2 separate regions of the Homo sapiens genome follow, and region 1 is linked to region 2. Evidence: promoter capture Hi-C in 16 types of primary human blood cells and fetal thymus (Javierre and others, 2016). All regions are on one chromosome and are shown on one strand. The core of a region is centred on a gene start or on the middle of the fragment in contact, and the rest is flanking DNA. Distances in the headings are between cores, read along the strand shown.

Evidence for each region. Contacts are between HindIII fragments. The CHiCAGO score rates a contact against its expected background, and 5 or more counts as called.
Region 1: a contact is called between a fragment that was not itself captured here and the fragment with the promoter of WDR44 in region 2, in 1 of 17 cell types (neutrophils). The highest score is 6.0, in neutrophils.

Annotation. Positions count from the first base shown.
Region 1 is chrX:118,702,382-118,707,197 of GRCh38, forward strand. It overlaps LOC124905207 (a long non-coding RNA gene), which reads left to right. Exons shown (of 2, transcript XR_007068306.1): 2 at 287-1,137. Among named protein-coding and RNA genes, the nearest start is that of IL13RA1, 23 kb to the right of the region's middle. The HindIII fragment of the contact is 1,861 bases long and covers 1,063-2,923 here.
Region 2 is chrX:118,343,745-118,348,907 of GRCh38, forward strand. It overlaps WDR44 (WD repeat domain 44), which reads left to right and starts at 2,362. Exons shown (of 20, transcript NM_019045.5): 1 at 2,362-2,836. The coding sequence starts at 2,760. RefSeq lists enhancers at 1,593-1,712, 1,903-1,952, 2,494-3,037, 4,533-5,127. The HindIII fragment of the contact is 5,332 bases long and covers 1-4,535 here.

The sequences.
Region 1 (4,816 bases), core at 743-3,242, 360 kb after region 2:
AAGAAAAGAAAATGGGTAAAGAACGTGAATAGGCAATTTGCAGAAGAAAAAATTCAAGTGGTCAATAAACATAGGAACTAATGTTCAATTTTATTATTAAATAAATATGAATTAATACTAGACAAAGGAGGAAATATCTTTTTTAAACTCTAAGAAGAAACAAAATGATAAACATCTGAGATATCTAGTCTAAAAAAAGGTTGGTACAACTTCAGAGACACTTTATCTGGGTTCCTTGCTTTTTCTCTCTGCTTCTTACTCCCCATAAACCTACTTCTCCCCACAGGAGGTGCCTTCTAGACATCTTGACATCGTGGTGAAGATGGAAAGAGTGTTTTACTAGACATGCCAAGAAAGGCTCTCCCAGTTCAAGTTTGCTTGTTTGGTTGTTTTTTTGTTTTGTTTTTTGTTCGTTTGAGAGACAGACCTTTTTACCAAGGTGGCTAACACAAAGAATTAACTTGTCCAGCTGAGAACTCACCCCTGAGTCACAGAGGTTTATGTTACTCTGGTTAACTCAAACATAGAACCACAACTAAGCAAACCGCAACAACTGCGGCATTCATAAAACAAGAATCATGCTTAGGCAGTCATTTAAGTGGGCTCATCACAGGACAGTAAATAATGACAAAAGAAAGCAGGGTGTGGAAGGGAATTGTGATGTTAATAACTCGTACAATGCTTAAATGCATGCCCGGCACTGTTCTAAATTAAATCCTTCAATGATCACTACAACTTTGTTAGGTAATGACACATATCCCTCATTTTATGAATGGGGAAACTAAGGCACAGCAAAGCTAGATAACTTGTTTGAGATCACACAATCGGTGGCAATGCTGGAATTTGAACCCAGAGAATCTGGTGTAACAGTTCACACTCAAGCCACCACTTTGAGAGGAATCAAGGGAAAAAGAAGAGAGATCTAAGAGAATAAAAAGGGGAGGAAGGAGGAGGAAAAACTCAGCTCACTAACACCTGAAGGCAATTGCTACATGGTACCCAGCCTCCTTTTTCAGGCCCACACCCAGGTCTTTGCAGTCCCCACCTCTACCTCTGTTATCAAGCTTCCTAAAATGACATGATTTGGGGATAAGTGTTCAAACTATTTTTTTCACAAATAAATGGTGTCCAGAGGAATTGATGTTGTTTCTTTTTTCTTTTTTTTTTTTTGAAATGGAGTCTCGCTCTGTCACCCAGACTGGAGTGCAGTGGCGTGATCTCCACTCGCTACAACCTCTGCCTCCCAGGTTCAAGTGATTCTCCTGCCTCAGCCTCCCAAGTAGCTGGGATTACAGGTGTGTGCCACCACGCCCAGCTAATTTTTGTATTTTTAGTACAGACAGGGCTTTGCCATGTTGACCAGGCTGGTCTCAAACTCCTGTCCTCAAGTGATCCGCCTGCCTCGGCCTCCAAAGTGCTGGGATTACAAGCATGAGCCACTGCGCCTGGCCTGATATTGCTTCTATTGTATCTTAGATTCAGGGGGTACATGTGCTTGTCTGTTACATGAGTATATTCTGTACTGGGAGTGGGCTTCTAGTATAGCCATTACCCAAATAGTAAACATTGTACCTGATAGGTAATTTTCTAACTCTCTCCCCAATATAATAATAATAATTATTATTATTATTATTTTTGAGACGGAGTCTCACTCTGTTGCCCAGGCTGGAGTGCAATGGCATAATCTCGGCTCACTGCAACCTCCGCCTCCTGGGTTCAAGCGATTCTACTGCCTCAGCCTCCCGAGTAGCTGGGATTACAGGCACCCGCCACCACTCCCGGCTAAGTTTTGTATTTTTAGTAGAGACAGGGTTTCACTATGTTGGCTAGGCTGGTCTTGAACTCCTGACCTCAAGTGATCTGCCCGCCTCAGCCTCCCAAAGTGTTGGGATTACAGGCATGAGCCACCGTGCCCGGCCTTATTATTTTTTATATTACAAACAACAATTGTTTTCAGAAGGAATCCATGTGAATTCAGGAATATAAAAATGCTGCCTTGGCCAGGCACCATGGCTCATGCCTGTAATCCCAGCACTTTGGGAGGCCGAGGTGGGTGGATCACGAGGTCAGGAGTTCAAGACCAGCCTGGCCAACATGGTGAAACCCCATCTATACTAAAAATGCAAAAATTAGCCAGGCATGGTGGTGTGTGCCTATAATCCCAGCTACTTGGGAGGCTGAGGGAGGAGAATTGCTTGAACCCAGGAGGCGGAGGTTGCAGTGAGCCAAGACCACGCCACTGCACTCCAGCCTGGCAGCAGAGCAAGACTCCGTCTCAAAAAAAAAAGAAAAAAAAAGCTGCCTTTTTGGTTTCAGTTTTCTTCCCTCTGCCTATGTGCAACCTAGAGCACCAAAATCAGAAGATCCATTCATGCCTTTTCCGCAGCACTAAGCTATAATTTAAACAGGAAAAGGCAAAGTTGCAGCTTTTGAACAGCCATAAGCCCTTACATCCTAGTAAGATGGCAGACTAAATTGTAGATAACTCCAGCTTCTCAAATTCTTAAAAGCCCTGTAGTCTTCATCCACCCTGTGCCATGTCTTTAGGATTCTATAAGACAGTAAGACTTTATTTCTAAACCAACTACTGAGATTGAAGATAAAATTAGAGCTTTAAGCCCCTTACCAAATTAATGGGAAGAGACTCTGAAAATTTAGAAATTCACTTCTGGAGTAGTGGAAGAATGGCGAAATTCACCTACTCAGTTTACAGTGGGGCCTCTCTCCAAGTTCGAGAGCCTGACACCCAGCTGTTTGCTGAGCTTCTCTCCTTAGGTGATCCACAGGCACCTCACAATCACCATGCTCCTCTTTCCTCTCAACCTGCTCCTCCTCCTCTGTTCTCCGTCTCAGTTGAGGACACCCCTTCCTATCCAGTGACACTGGCCAGAAATTTACAAGTCACCTAGACTAGTGGTCAGTAAGCTTTTCCTATAAAGGACTATTTATAGAAATATGTGAAGCTGGCGACAGAGTGAGACTCCGTCTCAGAAAAAAAAAAAAAGAAGAAATATGTGAAGCTTTGCAAGCCATACACTCTCTGCTGCAGCTACTCAACTGCTGCTGCAGGATGAAAACAGCTACTGAACAATATGTAAGAAATGGGCAGGGCTATATTCCAGTCAAATTGTGTGAGTGCTAAAATTTGGATGTCATGTCATTTTCATATGTTACAAGATATTCTTTTGAGTTTTTTCCAACCACTTAAAAATGTAATAAACCACTCTTAGCTTACAGGTTGTACAAAAGTAGGTGGGCTAGATTTGGTATATGAAGAGCTTGCTGCTCTAGAATCCTCACTCTCCTCCCTTCCCCACATCTGATCAGACAAGTCCAACAATCTCACTTTGTTTTCTTTTTTTTTTTTTTTTATCTGAGAAGGGGGCCTTACTATGTTGCTCAGGCTGGTCTCAAACTCCTGGTCTCAAGTGATCCTCCTGCCTCAGCCTCCTGAATAGCTGGGACTACAGGTGTGCACCACCATGCCTGGAGATCTCACTTTTTAAATGGTTATTGAATCTCTTCATCCATCTTTACATCATTTTAGTTCAGGTACTTGTCCATTTTGCTTTTTTTTTTTAATTTTTGAGACACAGTCTCGCTCTGTCACCCAGGCTGGAGTGCAGTGGCACAACCTCGGCTCACTGCAACCTCTCCACCTCCTGGGTTCAAGCGATTCTCCTGTCTCAGCCTCCAGAGTGGTTGGGATTGCAGGCACGCACCAAGCCCAGCTAATTTATTATTTTTTTTTTTTTGTATTTTAGTAGAGACGTGGTTTTACCCTGTTGGCCAGTCTGGTCTCAAACTCCTGACCTCAAGTGGTCTGCCCACCTTGGCCTCCCAAAGTGCTGGGATTACAGGCATGAGCCACCGCGCCAGGCCCATTTTGCTTTCTGACATAGACAGTTAAGCAAAATTGAAAACTACAAGGAAAGATCCTCTACAACTATCGTACATGGAAGTACATGTCCTTCCCATGTTTTTTTAAGTTCCTTATAGTGTATAGCATAAGTTACAGATTAGTTTGCCCCTTCCTTCAGCTGGCACTGGATAAATAATATGTTAATGCATGCCACCATTTTCTGCTGTGGCCTGGGAAGAGAGGGCATATGATGCTCTATCAGCTACCTCCAGTGAAAGGGTCTACAAAGCAGAGAGTGGGAGACAGCATTTGAGAGCATGCTGGCTGTTTCTAACCTCAGGGGCTGGCTGGACTATGTCTGGCCCCTTCTTTCCAGTGGTCTCCACACTGGATATTCAGATCTGCTTTCACTTGGAACCACACATCTGCATGTGGCTAGGACCCAGCTAATCTGCCAAGGACATTTGAGGTGTTTGCTCCTCAATTTCTAGTTCTCTGCCCCATCTATACCTTTGATGAGGCATTGGACAGCAATAGCATTCTTGTCTGGAAACATGACCGGCGGGCAAATATCAAGGGAGCTAGTGCCACCTACATGATGACAGTCACCACATCATGGTGACAGCGAGCAAGAGACATTAGGTAAACCACTCTTTGATGTCATTCCTTCTGTGTAAAGGGGAAAAAGAGGAAATCCAATCTAGTTCCTATTTTATTCAATTACTGGAATATAAGAAACATTTCAGGCCGGGCACTGTGGCTCACACCTGTAATCCCAGCACTGTGGGAGTCCAAGGCAGGTGGATCACTTGAGGTCAGGAGTTCCAGACCAGCCTGGCCAACCTGATGAAACTCCGTCTCTACTAAAATACATAAAAATTAGCTGGGCGTGGTGGCGGGTGCCTGTAATCCCAGCTACTCGGGAGGCTGAGACAGGAGAATTGCTTGAACCCA
Region 2 (5,163 bases), core at 1,112-3,611:
GCGGGATCTCAGCTCACTGCAACCTCCGCCTCCCAGGTTCAAGCAATTCTCCTACCTCAGCCTCCCGAGTAGCTGGGACAACAGGCAAGTGCCACCACGCCCCCCTAACTTTTGTATTTTTAGTAGAGACAGGATTTTGCCATGTTGGCCAGACTGGTCTCGAACTCCTGACCTCAAGTGATCTGCGCACCTCGGCCTTCCAAAGTGTTAGGATTACAGGTGTGAGCCACCGCGCCGGATCTAGTTGTCTTTTTAATCTGTCAATTGTCCTCAGCATCTAGAACGCTTCATGACACCAAATTGTATATGTTTACTGAACTGAGCGACTGGTTTCCACACACGGCATTTTGTTTTTGTTGTTGCTGTTGTTTTTTGTGTGTGTGTGTGAGAGACAGGGTGTGGCTCTGCTGCCCAGTCTGGAGTGTAGTGGTGCTATCTCAGCTCACTGTAGCCTCAACCTCCTGGGCTCAAGCGATTCTCCCACCTCAGCCTCCACAGTAGTTGAGACCATAGGCACATGCCACCACACCCAGTTAAATTTTGAATTTTTTGTAGAGACAGGGTTTCACCATGTTGCCCAGGCTGGTCTGAAACTCTTGAGCTCAAGAAATCCGCCTGCCTCGGCCTCCCAAAGTGCAGGGATTACGGGCGTGAGCCACCGCGCCTGGAACTAACACCTCTATCATATAGAGAAAACTAACTTTTTTTTCTTTGGAAGCCATAAATTCACTATTAGATATCTAGGAAGAGAATACATTCAGGTAGTTAACATCTTTCCATAAATATATATTTCCCTACCTTATATCTGGTATCTTTCCATAATCCAAAAAGAAAACAAAAAAACCTATCTTAGTGAGCAAAACGTTTTTAAAAGTTAGTACTTTGAGTTACATTTTTATACCTAGGAAGTTAATTAACATGTTTAAGACACATAAAACCTAATAATTTTTAGGTTTGACAAAAGTCATACCCTCACAAGGATCCACAAATCCCTTGTCTCCAATTCTGAAACTTCAAAAGCTCTGGAAACCAAGTTTCTGTTTTTTTTTTTTTTTAGTAATTTATTTGACAGTCAAATAGATCTATCTTAAACTTATTTGGCAGAAGCGTCTGACTCAAACTGAATGAGGCTATTTACTTGTATTTATTTATCCCGTATGAACAATCATATATCTTGCTGCAAAAATATTAATATATTTGATTACGCAGTGTTTTCCCTAAACTCCCTGGGGTATTATAGAATATACAGTATATGACATTTGGTTTTTACCCAAGTCCACTAGACCACAGCAGACCTTGCCCTGATTGCTTGACAAAGTCTAGAGCCCCTTTCCAGTTTCTCTGAGACCATACCCCTGGCTCCAATCCAGCCTTTTCTTGAATACTAATTGAGGCTGCACGAACAGCTCAAAATGCCTATCATGATGTCAGTTGGAGAAATAAATATGCTGTGTGATCATACTGAAAGTCAATGTTATCACCTTGATGGTCAATGACCCGTGGTTTAAGAAGGAACATCTCGGTTTTTTAAAAAGTACCTTTCTATTTTTATCACCGGACGCTGGGCAGTTGAGGATCAGAATTAAGCCATTAGCTCGTAGGCTTGCAATGATATCTGCTCAATAAATATTTACCATTTAGCTGACGCACATCTTGGGCAGTATGTAAGAACTTCTCTCACACTGTGTTGGCAGCGACAGACATGTGCGGAGAAAAAGTAACCGGAGGCCTAATACTGGCTCAGCTCCAGCAATAAATCCATCATTACACCATGGAACTGGCACACTCCCCGTGTATATCTCAAGGACCCCACCCTCTGGCCGGCAGGATCATATCTAGGGATCTCAATTAGAGATCTCGTAGTGAATAAGGGCGAGTTATTCTCGTAACGCCAGAGGTGGTGGACCTGCCGACGCCCTAGGGTGGGACATTCCGGGCTTGGATAGTAAGACATCGTAAATATACGCCAAAATGTCCACACCAACGTTTCCCGAGAGTATTTCTTTACAAGTAAAAGACCGACTCAAAATCACCCCTCTCAAAACGCGTCTCTTTGGAACTGCAGAGTTAGGGAGTAAGACTTTCTGCCTGACCCCACCTACGTCGGCCGCGCGCTCTCAGAGCCAGGGCACCACGCTGCTCCTGCGCAGGTCCTAGACTCCTCCCTTCGGGAGGCTCACCCCCTCCCTTCTCGGCTACTTCCGGCCCTCACCGAACGCCCTCAACGCGCTTGCGCCGTTTTGATAGGCTTCTCGGGCCGAAGTAATCGGAGCGCTGCCTCTCTGGAACCGCCCCCGCCACCTCTTCGCCCCGCCCACGTATTACCGCCCCTCCGAAATCTCGCGAGGGTAGGTGCGCGTCGGTATTTTGCGGGCAACTAGCTCTTCCAGCTGCTGTAAATTGCTGCTGCGGGAGAAACTGGAGCCGCTGTAGCCGGCGCGCCCTTCTTCCCTTACTGCGAGGAGCCACCGCCTCTTTCGCGCTCCTTATACACCTATCACTGGGAGCGGTGGCAGCAACATTCCCTGGACCAACCGCCGCCTCTTCAGGCGGCCGCTTTGCCGGTCATTCCCGAAGCCCGGCAACTGAGGGCGGCCCCCTTTCCTTAACAGTCTCCTCGCTACAGATCGTCTGCTCCCTCAGCCTCGCCCGAGACCCACTTCCCCAGTCTCGCCCGGGTGGAGGTCGACGAGGAGGAGACAAGAGTCACCCTTCCTCCAGGCGGCGCCGGCCCCCTCACCCGCGGGTGTGTCCTATAAATGGCGTCGGAAAGCGACACCGAGGAATTCTATGATGCCCCTGAAGATGTGCACCTAGGGGGCGGCTACCCCGTGGGGTAAGTGACTGCAGCTATGACAGGAAGCCGGGCATCCCAAGCCCCCCGCATCTCCTGTGTCTTCCCCCTACACCCCTCCCAGGTCCCGCTGTGTCCGCCACCGCTGTTCCTCCCCGTCTCACTGGAGGACTTCAGAACCCAGACCTGGGGCTTCTTAGGGCGGGGTGACTCGGAGAAGGGGGAGTCAGCCACCTCGGGCAGCCTCCCGGCCGTTTCCCTACTGAACGGTCCCAGGGTCGGTCTCGGAGCCCGTTTCTCTTCTGATCCAGCCTTCTGTGAGGGGGAACAGCTTACGTGCCTGAGTCGGAGATTTGTATCTGTGGGGTTCTGAGCTTACCTTTCAAACATCCGTTTTGGCCTCGGGGACCGTAGATTAAAGGAGCAGTAACAGGAGAAATGTAACTTGTAGTTTTTTATTCTCCCGTTTACCGCTAACTTACCTATTCACTTCAGAGGTGGCTGTAACTCTCCCCTATTTGCCGTCCTCTTTTTCTTGCACACAGCGAAAAGGAGCGGGGGGAAGGTTGGGTATTTGCTTAAGAAAGTCCTCTAGCGAATGTACTCTAGATCAACAGTGTTTTATTAAAATAACACCTTATCGTGAGGTAAAGGAAATCGAATACACGGTCCCTATTAGGCAGAATGCGGTCTAAAAGGATGGCCAGACAGAAGAAATGTGCACAACTGACTGCAGAGGGACAAACAAGTGCTGAGTAATCTGGTGATTGGAAGGAGAGCCCCAGCTTTGTGTTCTTTATCTAATTCTGCAAGATGTTTTAGTGGTGATTAATATGGGTGATTCTGAATAGGAAGTACAGTAGTTGGAATGCTCGCTTGACTAGGACTTGTATTTACTTACCCACTTCTCCACTTTTCAAAGTTGGGGTAGTGCTTTAAAGCGATTTCGCCGAACTCCCCTACGAATGTACGTGGAAATAGAGGCAGTGAAATATATTTTCATGCTGTAAGAACTTGAGGATTGGTAAAATGTAGATGTTAGTATAAAGGACTAATATGGTTCGAGAAGTTCACTGCCTTCAATTCTCACACTTACTCCGTGGGAGTAATAACCCGCTGTGATGCAAGTATAGTTAGCCATGCATGCTAGAAGTCATTCTAAAAACTAATGTATGTTTATACACAATATGCACCAAAAAGTTACAGTAATAAAATCAGAAAGCAATGTACGTTGGTAGATTTCAGATGTTTGTCTTTCCACCAACCTTCATGTCACTGTTGTGGGATTTTGGGGTGGCAGTGGCCAATCTTGAGATGACACCGAATCTCCTTCAAGTTCAATATCTGAGACAAGTTTAGAGCTAGGTGTAGAGCATAGGAAATACATTTGGGTTTTGAAATGTATTGGACTTCCGTGAAACTTAATTTTTGTGTGTGTGGTTTTCCCTTCAAAGTAATGAACTGACAATTCAGATTGAATGAGACACCAAGTCCTTTGGTACTTTTGTGTGTGTGTATTGGGGTGGGGGAGGGAAATCATCAGTTTATGAGCTGATCAGTTTAGAACTACTCTGTGGATATTGTTCTTTCCACTGAATAAGTTTAATTTCAAAGGACGCAAGTTATATCAGGACCTGTGTAAACTGTCTAGTCCAGTACCTGGGCACAGAGAAAGCATTCAAAATGTTCATGCTTTTCTCCTTCCTTTCTTGGCATTGGCAAATTTGTTAACTTTACACAAAGCTTATTTTGGGAGATATATAGAACTTGGACCTATTTTACTTATCTAAACCGGATGAGTCATTTTGATAGAATTGATAGAGTCACTTCTTCCCTCATGAGATAATACAGCTTCTCAAGCACTTTGATCCTCTGATATTAGGTGAAAACTGAAAAAGGTTTTTTTGGAACTCAGCTTTCTAATTTTAACTTTAACCTGCCCAATTACTAAGTGTGTTGAGTTCTATGGATAAAACTACAGGGTCAGTTTGTGGATTTCAGGGCTCCTTTCTGTATTAGAGGATTGGAAAGACAATAGACTAATCTGGAGAATTGCATCTGAAAAGAACTGGCAGCACTGAGGGCAGAAAAAGGTTAGCATCATTTACATTTTCCTCTATCCTTTGTGGAAGGTTGTATCATTTGCATAAGACACCGTGAGGAGATCTGGGTGGGCAACTTATAACCTAGAAATGTAGTGAGAAATCTTGATTTGTGGAAACAGATTGCCTTACTAGATATTGGTCATCAGAAATATGTTCTGTTCCTTCATATGATCTGGAGTGGCAAACTATACAATTTCTAAGGTTAATAGACTGAATTTGGGCACTTCAGAAATGTTCCTTGCTGTTGTGTGTTTGGGAGTACAC